3 separate regions of the Homo sapiens genome follow, and regions 1 and 2 are each linked to region 3. Evidence: promoter capture Hi-C in human tissues and cell types (Jung and others, 2019). All regions are on one chromosome and are shown on one strand. The core of a region is centred on a gene start or on the middle of the fragment in contact, and the rest is flanking DNA. Distances in the headings are between cores, read along the strand shown.

The links. Contacts are between HindIII fragments. The study calls those that stand out against the background at their distance.
Region 1: a contact is called between a fragment that was not itself captured here and the fragment with the promoter of TFAP4 in region 3, in 1 of the 25 tissues and cell types used here (dorsolateral prefrontal cortex).
Region 2: a fragment that was not itself captured here is called in contact with the fragment with the promoter of TFAP4 in region 3 in 1 of the 25 tissues and cell types used here (dorsolateral prefrontal cortex).

What each region holds. Positions count from the first base shown.
Region 1 is chr16:3,604,704-3,609,434 of GRCh38, forward strand. SLX4 (SLX4 structure-specific endonuclease subunit) reads right to left here. Exons shown (of 15, transcript NM_032444.4): 2 at 3,727-4,731; 3 at 1,771-1,995. The coding sequence starts at 4,261. Among named protein-coding and RNA genes, the nearest start is that of SLX4, 4.5 kb to the right of the region's middle. The HindIII fragment of the contact is 4,547 bases long and covers 1-3,929 here.
Region 2 is chr16:3,738,894-3,743,284 of GRCh38, forward strand. It overlaps CREBBP (CREB binding lysine acetyltransferase), which reads right to left. Exons shown (of 31, transcript NM_004380.3): 24 at 1,506-1,656; 25 at 685-831. Among named protein-coding and RNA genes, the nearest start is that of TRAP1, 24 kb to the left of the region's middle. The HindIII fragment of the contact is 9,134 bases long and covers 1-4,391 here.
Region 3 is chr16:4,270,995-4,275,384 of GRCh38, forward strand. It overlaps TFAP4 (transcription factor AP-4), which reads right to left and starts at 2,029. Exons shown (of 7, transcript NM_003223.3): 1 at 1,664-2,029. The coding sequence starts at 1,752. RefSeq lists enhancers at 246-1,222, 764-953, 1,854-1,903, 2,200-3,175 and silencers at 1,034-1,193, 1,554-1,603, 2,324-2,973. The HindIII fragment of the contact is 15,415 bases long and covers 1-4,390 here.

The sequences.
Region 1 (4,731 bases), core at 406-2,905, 670 kb before region 3:
CCAGCTTCCTGGAAGCTGAGGCAGGAGAATGGCTTGAACCCAGGAGGTGGAGTTTGCAGTGAGCCGAGATTGCGCCACTGCACCCCAACCTGGGAGACAGACCAAGACTCCATCTCAAAAAAAAAAAAAAATGTATATTTATAAAGACATAAACAAATGGCCAAATGTTAACATTTGTTAAATCTAGATTGAGGTATAGGGGATTAGGGGATTCATTGTAATTTTTTTTTTTTTTTTTTTGAGACAGGGTCTCACTCTGTTGCCCTGGAGTGCAATGATGCAATCACAGCTCACTGCAGCTCAACGTCCTGGGCTCAAGCAATCCTCCCACCTCAGCCTCCCGAGTAGCTGGGACTACAGTTGTGCACCATCATGCCCAGCTAATTAAAAAAAAATTTTTTTTTGAGTCAGAGTCTTGCTCTGTTGCCCAGGCTGGAGTGCAGTGGTGCAATCTCGGCTCACTGCAAGCTCTGTCTCCCAGGTTCACGCCATTCTCCTGCCTCAGCCTCCCGAGTAGCTGGGACTACAGGCACCCACCACCATACCTTGCTAATTTTTTGTATTTTTCATAGAGATGGGGTTTCACTGTGTTAGCCAGGATGGTCTCAATCTCCTGACCTTGTGATCTGCGCACCTCGGCCTCCCAAAGTGCTGGCATTACAGGCGTGAGCCACCACGCCTGGCCCCTAAAATTTTTTTGTAGAGATGGGGGTCTCACTATGTTGTCCAGGCTGGTCTCGAACTTGTGACCTCAAGTAGTCCTCCTGCCTTGGCCTCCCAAAGTTTTGGGATTATAGGCATGAGCCATCATGCCTGGCTTCATTGTAATTAAAACAACAACAACAAAAAAACCTTTTCTGAAAGGAAGAGTTCTTTGTGAATACTGAGGGTTATCTTTTTAAAAGGAAAAAACTGAAAGGGAAAGCTTTCATAATAAAAAGTCATAATTTTTAAAAAAAGGAGGCCAGGCACAGTGGCTCACGCCTGTAATCCCAGCACTTTGGGAGGCCAAGGCGGGTGGATCACGAGGTCAGGAGATCGAGACCATCCTGGCTAACAAGGTGAAACCTTGTCTCTACTAAAAATACAAAAAATTAGCCAGGCGTGGTGGTGGGAGCCTGTAGTCCCAGCTACTCGGGAGGCTGAGGCAGGAGAATGGCGTGAACCTGGGAGGTGGAGCTTGCAGTGAGCTAATATCGTGCCACTGCACTCCAGCCTGGGTGACGGAGCGAGACTCCATCTCAAAAAAAAAAAAAAAAAAAAAAAAGGAAGAGGGCCAGGTGCAATGGTTCACGCCTGTAATCCCAGCACTTTGGGGAGCTGAGGTAGGCAGATCACTTGAGGTCAGGAGTTCGAGACCAGCCTGGCCAACTTGGCGAAACCCTGTCTCTACTAAAAATACAAAAATTGGCCAGGTGTGGTGGCACACGTCTGTAATCCCACTGGCTGGGGCAAGATAATTGCTTGAACCTGGGAGGCGGAGGTTGCAGTGAGCTGAGATCATGTCACTGCACTCCAGCCTGGGTGACAGAGCAAGGCTCTGTCTCAGAAAAAAAAACAAAACGGTACCTTATCAAGGAAGCTAGGTGGGAAATGATCCCAGAGACTCTTCATTCTCTGGCTGGATCCAGTGAAGTGGCAAAGGTAAAACATCAAGCAGAGAGCCTATCCACAGAAGAAACTCAACAAATGCTGATTCCTTCCCGCCTCCCTTCCTCAGAGTTGTATTAACTTATCTCTGTGTGGAAGACAGAAACACACTCATCATACCATTCCCCGCCATCATCTCCTCTTGAGGATCCTTTGGGACATTTTCTTCCCGCGCAGCCTCGAGGGAGCACTCTTCTGAAGCGTGTCTCAAACGCTCGGGGTCTGCTCTCTTGAACTGCTGCATTCGCTGTAGGACCAATTGTGCTGTGCGGGGTTTGGAGGGACTTGGCACTGCTGTTGTCAAACAGGAAGGAGGAGGCTGGGAGTCGCTGTTGGGCACATTCTCTGGCAAGGAGGAAAATATTCACAACCATCTGTTGTAGCTGGAGAAATAAAAGACTTTTCTACCAGATACAGGTTAGACGCAAGTTTCAAGAGTCCTTTATCAACTAGTTTAGGTTTGACTCACAAATGTGAAGAGGACTGGTTGCTTGTTGGTAACCTCTTTGTTTATGGCAATATAGACATAAATATCAATAACAGGAGGGGAATGGGATGTGACTGCTAATGAGCATGGGGTTTATTTTTAGGATGATAAAACTGTTCTAACGTTAGGTAGTGGTGGTGGTTGGACAAGTCTGTGAATATACTAAAAACCACTGAACCATACCCTTTTAAATGGTGAATTTTATGGAATATCAATTATACCCCAATAAAGCTATTATTAAAGAAATATTAATGACAAAGGTTTATGTCCTAGATCAGTTCTTCTTTAACTTGGGATCCACGGATGATCTTCAGTGGGGATCCATGAACCCCATGAAGTTGTGTGCCAGTTTTGCAGATACGCGCATGGATACGTGTTTTGGGGGAACCATGCATAGATTTCATCCGACTGGCAAAGAGCACGAGAGACCAGTAAAGTTGGTGAGGCAACACTGCTGATGCCTTCCAGTAGTCTATGCGACCTGAGACTCTACCACCACTCTACTGAGAGGTTATTAAGATCAGGAAGTGAGGGCAAAGGAAATTTAGAAACAGAACTCAGGAGCTCAGAGAGCCCATGGTGTATTATATATGCAAGGGTAGTTTTCAGTTTTGCATGAAGAATGTGTAGTAAGCATATAGCTCAGTATACCAAGGGCAGCAGGGCAAGAAAACTGCTTTAAACAGTTAAAAAATTATCCAGGCACGGTGGTGGGTGCCTGTGGTCCCAGCTACTCGGGAGGCTGAGGCAGGGAGGACTGCTTGAACCTGGGAGGTCAAGGCTGCAGTAAGCTATGATAGCACCACTGCACTCCAGCCTGGGTGAGAGACCAAGATCCTGTCTCTAAAAACTAAGTAAGTAAATAAATCAATAACAATAACAAAGGAAAAGATTAAAAGGTCTTCAGAGAGAGAAAGAAAGAACCTGAAGATTCTCCTGGGACTTGAGCCCACACAGAGTCCTCATGCGGCCCTCTCAGCAGCCTATCCAAATTGGCTGGCCCAGTCCAACTTACCCACTTTGGAATAAATTCAAGAAAACAAGAGAAGCAGCATTATTGTGTTGTTTGTGTAACTCATGTCAATCATATAACAGAATTTCATAGGAAATTCTGAAAGAGCAGAGGACTCCAAACACAATCATGTGAAAAATTCACACGGGTTATGTTTTTCTTGACTGTTGTTTAAACCAGGAGTCAGCCGGGCGCAGTGGCTTACGCCTGTAATCCCAGCACTCTGAGAGGCTGAGGCACGAGGATTGCTTGAGTCCAGGAGTTCAAGACCAGCCTGGGCAACATAGTGAGACCTCCAGCTCTAAATTTTTTTTTAAGCTTAAAAATTAAAAAATAAAAACAAACCAAAAGTTAGCAAACTACGGTCATGTGGCTGGCTGCCTGTTTTTGTAAATAAAGTTTTACTGGCATATGGCCATGCCTGTTCATTTACATATTGTCCACGCCTGCTTTCTCACTATGACAGCAGAGTTGAGTAGTTGTGACAGAGTCTGTGTGGCCTACAAAGCCAAAATATTTACGATCTGGCCCTTTCCAGGAAGTTTTCCAGCCCCTGGTTTAAAAGAGTACAAATTACCTCTGGTTTTCTCTCTGGAAAGGTTTGGCGATGGTTCTTGCTGGTTACCCGTCTGGGTGTTTTGTGCTGTTTCCCGGAGCACAGGTGGATCTGGAGCAGAGGCAAGCACACCCCCCTCCCCATTCACAGAGTGGGCCGGTTCACTTGCTTGCCATTTGGTTACCCTTTGCTTTTTAGTCCTAGGGGCCTGGCTGCCAGACGGAGGTTTCTTCTCTGCAGGGCCTTGAAGGGTTTTGGTCTTGGTAGCAGTTTGTTTGGTCCTTTTCAATTTGCTTCTTATCTGAGTGCCGTTTGAGGCAGCCTTTTGTGTCTTCCTTTCTCCTGACACTTCCTTGATTCCATGTTTTTTCACCCTTTGGAAAAAGCTAGCGCAGAGTTCTTTAAAGTCCTCATCAGACTCATCCATCATCTGACCAGTTTTAAGGCTTTCAGGCTGGTCTTCAGAGGAGCGAGGGTCAATCCCAGGACAGGCAGACAGATGAGAAAGTGAACCCAAGTAGAAGCCTAGCTGAGCCTCATTCACACTCAGTTTCATTAGGGTTCTTCTCTACTTCTCCATTAGATACTTGGAGAGTTTGCACAATTGAACAAAAAGTACTGTTTTCCTCTCTATAATGATTGAAGTATCTTTGTTCAAATTGGGCCTGTGGTTAAACATGTTTAAAGCTTCCCTCTGTTAAAGTCCACAACTGGGCCGGGCGCGGTGGCTCACACTTGTAATCCCAGCTCTTTTGGAGGACGAGGCGGGGGGTGGATCACCTGAGGTCAGAAGTTCGAGACCAGCCTGGCCAATATGGTGAAACCTCGTTTCAACTGAAAATACAAAAAATTGGCCAGGCGTGGTAGCAGATGCCTGTAATCCCAGCTACTCGGGAGGCAGAGGCAAGAGAATCGCTTGAACCTGGGAGGCGGAGATTGCAGTGAGCCGAGATCGTGCCACTGCACTCTAACCTGGGCAACAAGAGCAAAACTCTGTCTCAAAAAATAATAATAATAAATAAATAA
Region 2 (4,391 bases), core at 501-3,000, 530 kb before region 3:
GTACCATCATGCCCAGATAATTTATTTTTTGTAGAGCTAGGGTCTCACTTTGTTGTTCAGACTTGTCTCAGACTCCTGTGGTCCAGTTATCCTCCCACCTCGGCCTCCCACAGTGCTGTGATTGGCCAGTTTTTCTTTTGATGGTATTTACACTGGCCACCAAACAGGATGTGATAAACAAACAAACAAACCAAAACCCAAAAACCAACCAGTCACCAACCCTGCTGCCAATCAGTTAAATGGAATTCAGTTTTCGTCACTGAACAAAAGGATGAATGGCACCACTCGGCACAGAGAGCCACAGTTAAGGCAAACTGAGAAAAGCCACTTTTAGTTCCTTCTTGCCCAGATTCCTGACTGCACATGAAGCCCTCGTGGCAGAGCTACTTCCTCTGTTCAGGTGCCAGGCTGTCCCATCCCAACTCCCCAGGTTTACCTGCGTTAGGTAAGAGCGGGTCCCACACAGACTCGCCACACAAAACACGCTCACTGCAGTCATCTCAACAGTTCATTTCCCGCTAGTTTAATGGAAAACAAAACTAACTACTTTGGTTAGTTAATTGTGGTTTCATTTACTTTAATCCCCTATGAAGGCTCACAGGCTCCTCTGGGACACTTAAGAGCCCTGGTCTATCCTAACACGGCTCACTGAATGACACGCCCTGGAAGGAGCTGGAAAACTACCTCGTGTTTGGAGGGGGGCAATCAGAGCCGTATTCTTGGACGTGCATTCCAAAAAAGCAGACATCCACGCCGTCAATTTCCTCAAAAGCAAACAGAGCTTTGGTTCGATATGGGAAAGATTCAGACATTTCCCCAGAATCCACAAACCTGAAACAAAAGCCAGAGCCGGACATTTACAAAGGCTGTTGCTGACAAGGTGCTTCTGCACACCAGGCCTGCTCCTCTAACTCTGGCCACTGCAGATGAGCGGAGGCATGGCCACCTCCTCAGACCGTGGCCTGGAGTCCTCCCTATGGGCCAGTCAGCCCCGGAGCAGGGAGCACTTGCTTTCTGACCAGTTTCCCTCACTAGGGAACTGCACCTCTGTGAATGAAATACGGGATTCTGAGGAGGACTGGCTATACAGCAGTCCCCCTTATCCACGGGGTGTATGTTCCAAGACCAGCAGTGGATGCTGGAAACCATGGACAGTATCAACCTCTATGCGTTTTTTCTTATACACCTGTACTGGTCACAAAATTTTAATTTATAAATTAGGCACAGCAAGAGATTAACAAGAATAAGTAATAATAAAATAAGAAAATTATAAACAGTATACTATAATATGGTATGTGGTCTCTCTCTCAAAATAGCTTACTGCACTGTATAGGGTAACTAAAACCCCAGACAGGACAACCGCAGCTGAGGGGGCTACTGCACGCATTCGCTGCTGCAAAGTCTTGGAAGGATGACCTCAAACTCAAGAGCTTTGCAGAGAGCAGGCTCTGGCAAGCGGGCGTGGGGACTGCTCGCAGAGCACTGTAGAGAGCAGGCACACTGACCGTGACTTCATCCCGGGCTTGACCTCCACCGTCTTGTCTGAGCTGGCCACCACTCGGACAAAAACCTCCCCGGCTTCAGGGTGATTCTGGCGCCGCAAAAATTTGTTCACTCGGTCTTCCAAGTGGTTTCCCAGTCTTGTGGTCTGCAGCCCTAGGAAGTCCAGAAGGAGCAGGTGAGAGGGCTTCAACAGCACTGCTGAGACAGTGACTGAGACTAGAGAATCCACCCCACTTTGCAGCACAGGCTGATATTTTAAAGGACTAATGTTCTCCAAACACGGAAGAAATCTAATCTGTCCTGTGACACGAGTGTTATATAAAGGAAAGGTGGACTCTGGGATCTCAGGCACTCCACTCCTGAAAACCGTTTACGTGCCCAGGTAACCTGCATCTTTTTCTAACAGTATGGGGCAGAAGACCTATAGCGGTGGGTCCAAAATTGACAGGGGCTCTAGGGCGGAGCAGATGGATGTTTCCCTGTTGCTTCCCGCTTTCCCTGGAGGGCAGAGATGGCACACCCTCAGTGGGCTCCTCCTGCCCAGCTCTGAGGAGAAAGTCCCTACTATGGAGTCTGACGTGAACGTGGAACGTTCTAGGGCTAACCAATTAAGCTCTGGCCAGAGCCTGTCCGGTGCCTCAGGAGCTGGCAAAGTATTGGTGTCCAAGCCTGCCCTGAGCCATCGCCTCGTGCGGTGCACGAATGAAGTTTCCGAGCCTTGGCGAGGGCAGCCTTTCCTGGGCTCACCTCCCCGCCGCCACCCCTCCTCACCCAGGGCCAGCCCCGGGAGGGCTACCGTCACAGGAGCTAGCCAGAGGCAGGACATTACTTCAGGACAGAGAACGCCTCATATACAGGTTAAAAAACTATAAGGGAAAGTTGCAAAAGGTTCTTAGTGATTACGTATAGACAATGAGATTTTAAAAGATGTTTTCTTCTTTGCTGGCTTTTAAATATTTCCTACATTAGTGAGAAATAGGAAAATTGGGAATTTTCGAAGATTCCTTAGCGAGCTAGAAAATTTAGACCAAACTTCTAAATTTCATTTTTCTGCAATAAACAAACCAGTGGTGCTGATTTTTGGATAAGTTGTACCTGAATAAAAATGATTTAAAAAGAAAAATGTGGCCGGGCACAATGGCTCATGCCTGTAATCCCAGCACTTTGGGAGGCCGAGGCAGGTGGATCACCTGAGGTCAGGAGTTCAAGACCAGCCTGACCAAAACGGAGAAACCCCATCTCTACTAAAAATACAAAATTAAGCTGAGCGCAGTGACTCACACCTGTAATCCCAGCTCTTTGGGAGGCTGAGGCGAGTGGATCACCTGAGGTCAGGAGTTCGAGACCAGCCTGGCCAACATGGTGAAACCCCCGTCTCCACTAAGAATGCAAAATTAAGTCGGGAGCGATGGCTCATGCCTGTAATTCCAGCATTTTGGGAGGCCGAGGCAGGCGGATCACGAGGTCAGGCGATCGGGACCATCCTGGCTAACACGGTGAAACCCCATCTCTACTAAAAAACAGAAAAAATTAGGACTACAGGCATGGTGGCGGGCGCCTGTAGTCCCAGCTACTCGGGAGGCTGAGGCAGGCGAATGGCGTGAACCCGGGAGGCAAGAGCTTGCAGTGAGCCGACATCACGTGACTGCACTCCAGTGTGGGCGACAGAGCGAGACTCTGTCTGCACAAACAAAACAAAACAAAAAAAAAACAAAAAAACCCCCCAAAAAAACAAACAAAAAAAACTCTTCCAGAGTAACTTCGCTATTTGACACCTGTGATCCACACATGGCTGCATACTCCAGAGGTGGTCTCAGACAGCACAGGGGTCTAGGCGCAGGCCGTGCTCACTGCGGTGCACTCTGCGCAACCTTCCTCACAGTGCTGCCTCCTTTTCTGTTATCACTCGATTTGGCCACTGTTCCTACTTTTTCATCACTCCTTGCCATTGCTGCAGTTATGTCCTTGTATGTGCCGTTATGCATATGTGCAAATATTTTTATAGGATACATGTGTGAAAGTAGACTTGCTAAATCTAAAAATGAACACTTTAAATTGTGCCCCTCGCTTTCTGGCATTCAACTTGTATCTTCATCCATGGCGCATGACAGGGGCCTTTTGTGCCTTTTCCTTTCTCATCTCTGGGCTGTATCTTTTTAAGGAAGGCTTTTCATAACTCAACACAATAAAATTATTATCTTACTTTTATCCTGAATGCATCTGCAGTTTTGTTTACTTTTCTCGCTTTTTAATCTACCTGAATTTGGTTTTGCATATGGTGTATGCGAAGGAGATGGTTTTCAATGCAAGATTAAGGAAGCATACCTTTACTCTGTGATCAGACACCACAACGCCTGTGCTGACACACGCTCACACTGAGAGTAGAGCTACCTCTAGTCTCCTAGGCCCTTTTCTCCAGTAATGTTCCATTTCTAGATCTTGGGCTCATCTACCGAATGCCCACGGGTCTTTCTGGATGCTGCGGTGGGAGGGGGCTGGACCTGCTCTGGGGCCACTTGTGCCATTCCGCCCAGTCACCTCCTGCCCCTTTCAGGCAATGACTGTTCTACGGAGGCCTAGTTCTCTGGGTAATTCTGTTTTGGCTACTGAGCCTCTGGCCCAGGGAAGAACTTCCAATTTGCTCAAATGCATTAGCGAACTCACTCAGAGTGAATCCTCTGAAGCAGGGCCTCTCAAATGGAGGCAACTGTGCCCCTCCAGGGGACATCTGGCAATGTCTGGAGACATTTCTGACAGACGTAATGAATTGCTGAGGAAGGTGTTACTGGCACTGAGTGGGCAGAGGCCAGGCATGCTGCTAAAATCCTGTAATGCGCAGGACAGCCCCTAAAACAGAGGGTTACCTGGCCTGAAATGTCAACAGTGCC
Region 3 (4,390 bases), core at 779-3,278:
ACTCAGTGAGAAAATTCTAGCAAAGTGAGTCCCCAGAACATAAAAAGAGCTCAAGAATTTTTTTTACTTATTATTACTGGGCCCTCCAGGTGGGCCTCGTGCAAGGGCCAGCCCTCGGGGCATCCCTGCCAGCTGCCAAACCCATCAACTGGCCCAAGTCTAGGTATTGACTGGGAACTTCAGAGTAGCCTTAAGGTGGGGACCCCCGGGGCAGAGGGTTGGGCAGGAGTGTCTACACGTGTGCAGCAACCTTCCCTCCAGGCCGGATTCTGCAGGCGCTAGCGTCCACCAGCCTGTGCCACACCGGCGGGCTCCTCCTCCCTCAATCCCCGCCCAGACTGCCTCGGGCGGCAGAGCACGTGGCTCCAGCCCTGGGGAGCCATTTCGCTCCTGGAGCAGCGCGGCAGGAAAGGGGCCACAGGTCCCAAACTTGCGCACGCCGTAGAACGCCCACCTCCCCCACACCACGCCCAGGGGGTCGTTCAAAATGCAGATGTCCGGGCCCCAGCGATCAGAGTTCCAGGCATGTGCATTTTAAGAAGTGTGCGGGGTGGTTTGGCTGTGTGTGGTCCTTGAGTCCATCACCCTTTGGGTTTAGAGCAACCTAGGACCAAAGCTTGCAAAGTGGCTTCTGGGGAGGCCTGCGGACCTCGGGCCACCCACCCGGCTGGGGGACCCGACGCTTTCGGTTTACGGCAGGGGGGAGGGGCGTTGGATGGGAAAGTTTGCAGAGGAAACCCACGTGCGGCGGGAAGCTGCCCTGCGAGGCTAGGGGCGGCCTCAGGTGTCCCTTCCCCAAATGGCCTGCCCACCTGGCCTGCCTTGCCCATCGTGCCCGCGGGGGCCGAGCTTTGTGCAGGGAAAGCGTGGCCCAGGAGCGCCTACAAATCCCACAATGCTGCACCAGCAGGACACGGAGAACTACAGCTCCCGCGAGGCCGCGCGCAGAGGTCCGCCTACTCCAAGAGGGCTGCAGAGTCACGTCCAGGCCTCGCTAGTAAACAGCGCCCGGGCGCGGGCGGGCGAGCGAGCGGCAGCCAACGTGCCCCGGGCCGCGGCGCCCCTACCGGCCGCGCGGGCCCCTCGGGGTCCGCCCACCCCCAACACCCACACGCGAGCACGCCCCCGACCCCGCTGCAGCCCCGCTCTGCAAACACGCACAGTGCCCGGCTCCCCGCCCCCACCCCGCGCCGGGAGCCGCGGCATGGCTGCATTGTAGCCGCCCTAGCTACACCCCCACGCGCGCCCCGGGCCCCCAGACCCCCTTGGATGGGGACGACCTCAGATCCCGAGGAAGGAAGGAGAGGAAGGAAGCCGCCGCAGGAGGGGGAAAGAGGAAGCGCGGGGGGGAAGGCCACCAGCACCAAGCATGGCCGGGACTGCTGCAGAACCACGTGGGTCTGTTTGCAATTTACAAACGTCGCGACTCGCCCGCCTGCAGCGGACAAAAGTGGCCGGGGCCGCTTGGGGCCCCCATGCTCCAAGGAAGGAGGGTCCCGGGGCGGCGCGGACCCGGCGTGTGGGGCTGCAGCCGTCCCGGCAGCTAAGAAAGGCTAGCGGGGTCGGCGGCGCGGGCCATGCGTGCGCACACGCGCGCCCGCCCGGGCGGGCTGGCCGGGGGCTGCAGTGGTAGGAAGGGGGTGGGGGGAGGAGGAGTACACACCTACAGAGCCCTCCTATCACTTCTTTCTCTGTTTTCCTGAAATGTTGCAAAGAGGGCACCTTCTGAGTGGGCACCATGAAATACTCCATAGCGATCGGCCCCCCTCCTCTGCACGAGCCAGGTCCCGCGATCAGCCGGAGAATGCAAGATGGAAATCCGAATCAAAGGGCAGCGCCGGACGGAGGTGCAGAATCGGCCGGTCCCAGATGCTGGCGGCGGCGGCGGCGGCGAGGGGAGGGAGGCGGGCGGGAGGGGCGGGAGGGAGGTCTCTCCGGCCTGCCTCCCCGGGCGTGTGTATGTGTGTGTGTGTGTGTGTGTGTGTGTGTGTGTGTGTGTGTGTGTGTGTTTGCAGCTGATCAGATGTCTGTTTCAAGGCGGGAAACAGCTGGTGAAAACTCAGCACTCCCCCGGCCTCCTTCCGCGGAGTAAGGAATTGCATGTAAACAAAGGACTATTTGCAGCGCCCCCCGGGCGGCGCGAGGCCGGGGCGAGAGGGGCGCGGGCCCCCGGGGACCGGCTGCAACCGGGGTCTGCAGGCCTCTCGCGGGGCGCAGGGGGCCGGGGGCCGCGGGCGGGCTTGCGGGGCGCGGCGTGAATGGAGCGAGCTGCGGCCGAGCTACATGCGCCACTATGGGTGATGAGGTCCATCAGCTGACAGGTTGGCAAGCGTTGCAAAAAAAAAAAAAAAAAGGCCAGCCACCGCGCAGGGAGCCCAGCCCGTGCAGCCCGGAGTCCAGCAGCGACTGGCCCAGAGCAGGGTCCGCGCGCTCGGCCGGCCCGCAGGGAGGAGGGGGCGCGGCTGGGTCGGGCGTGCAGCGGCAGCAAGGAAGGCGGCCTGGGGTTCGCGCTTGGGGCTTCTGCTTTTTCACCATTGCAGCTGCACGGAGCGGAGCCTCTCCGGTGTGCTCCCTTCGAGCCGAGCCCAGGGCCCCCTGGAAACTTGCGTCACAGCCACCGCTTCCCACATGTAACTCGGGGCTGACTTCGGAGGCCGGCCAGCTTCCTCCCTCCCGCCTTGCTTAGCTGGCCGCACGGCCGGGACTCCGGATCCTGGGAATCTTGGACCCGGCGACGGGACGGCAAAGGGCGCCTCGGATGCTGGGGCCGCCCTAGGAAGCCGGGGGCCCCGGCAGGGAGGGGAGGGTGGAGGCGGGCCTGAACGGCAGCGGCCCCCGGGCGCAGGCTGCCAGCGCTGCGGGGAGGTCTGCTGGTTGCTGCCGGGTCCCCTGCTATTCCCCCAGACCCGCACTGTTCCCTCCGCGGGCTGAAGGCTGCAGCTTCCCATTCATAACAAAGCCCGTGTGGGACTTGCCCCTCCGCCAGGATGCGCTCCCCAAGAGGGGGTGACGACTTGGGGCAGGGACGGGGACCCTGGCGGCGAGCTTCCGTCCTCCGCTCGCACGCCGCACCTTCCGGCCCCAGGCCCTCCCCTGGCTCCTGGAGGGTTGGCTCCTGGCTCAGGAAGCCCACGCCTGCCTTGGAATGTCCTGGATCCTGCCCACCGCCTTCCAGGTTCCGCCTAAATCGCGCCTCCTAATTTGACTTATTCCTACTAGTAACAATAGTTACTGTTATTATTGGGAAATATTGTTATTAGATGTTGCCAGCACCCGGTGGATGCCGAGCAGTTTTGCTTACACGCTCTCCAATCCTTGAAGCAACCTGTTAGGCAGTTTCTCTAAGGAGAGATCCCAGACCACTTGACCAAAAAAAAGTCTCTGGAAGGCTTACTATGTTTCTACTTAAAAAAAAAAAAAAAAAAAAAAAACTTTCGGCTGGGCGCGTTGGCTCACGCCTGTAATCTCAGCACTTTGGGAGGCTGAGGCGGGTGGATCACCTGAGGTCGGGAGTTCGAGACCAGCCTGACCAACATGGAGAAACCCCGTCTCTACTAAAAATGCAAAATTAGCCGGGGGCCTGGTGGCACATGCCTGTAATCTCAGCTACTCGGGAGGCTGAAGCAGGAGAATCGCTTGAACCCGGGAGGTGGAGGTTGCAGTGAGCCAAGATCATGTCATTGCACTCCAGCCTGGGCAACAAGAGTGAAACTCCGTCTCAAAAAAAAAAAAAAAAAAAAACCTTTTTACTGTTTTTCAACAAATAGAGATAGGAGTCTCACTGTGTTGCCCAGCCTGGTCTTGAACTCCTGGGACTCAAGGAATCCTACCTCTACCTCCCAAATTGCTGGGATTACAAGCATGAGCCATGGATGGCCCTGGTGGGAAGCCTATTTTTAACTGCCCTTAGTGAGCAAGCTATTCTTTTTTTTGTTTTGTTTTGTTTTGTTTTTTAAGACGGAGTCTTGCTTTGTCACCCAGGCTAGAGTGCAGTGGCACGATCTCGGCTCACTGCAACCTCCGCCTCCTGGGTTCAAGTGATTCTTCTGCCTCAGCCTCCCAAGTAGCTGTGGTTACAGGCACACACCACCAAGCCCGGCTAATTTTTGTATTTTTAGTACAGATGGGATTTTGCCCTGTTGGCCAGGCTGGTCTCAAACTCCTGACCTCAGGCGATCTGCCCACCCCGGTCCCCCAAAGTGCCAGGATTACAGGCATCAGCCACCTCACCCAGCAGTGAGCAAGCTATTCTGGTGCATTACTGTCTCCTTATCCTCTCATTTTGCACATGGGAAGACAGAAGCTCACAGCTGCAGACAAGAATGCACTCAGGAGTGCTGGCTGCAAAAAGCCCTGGTTCTTTATATCACACTCATCCTCCCACCTGCCA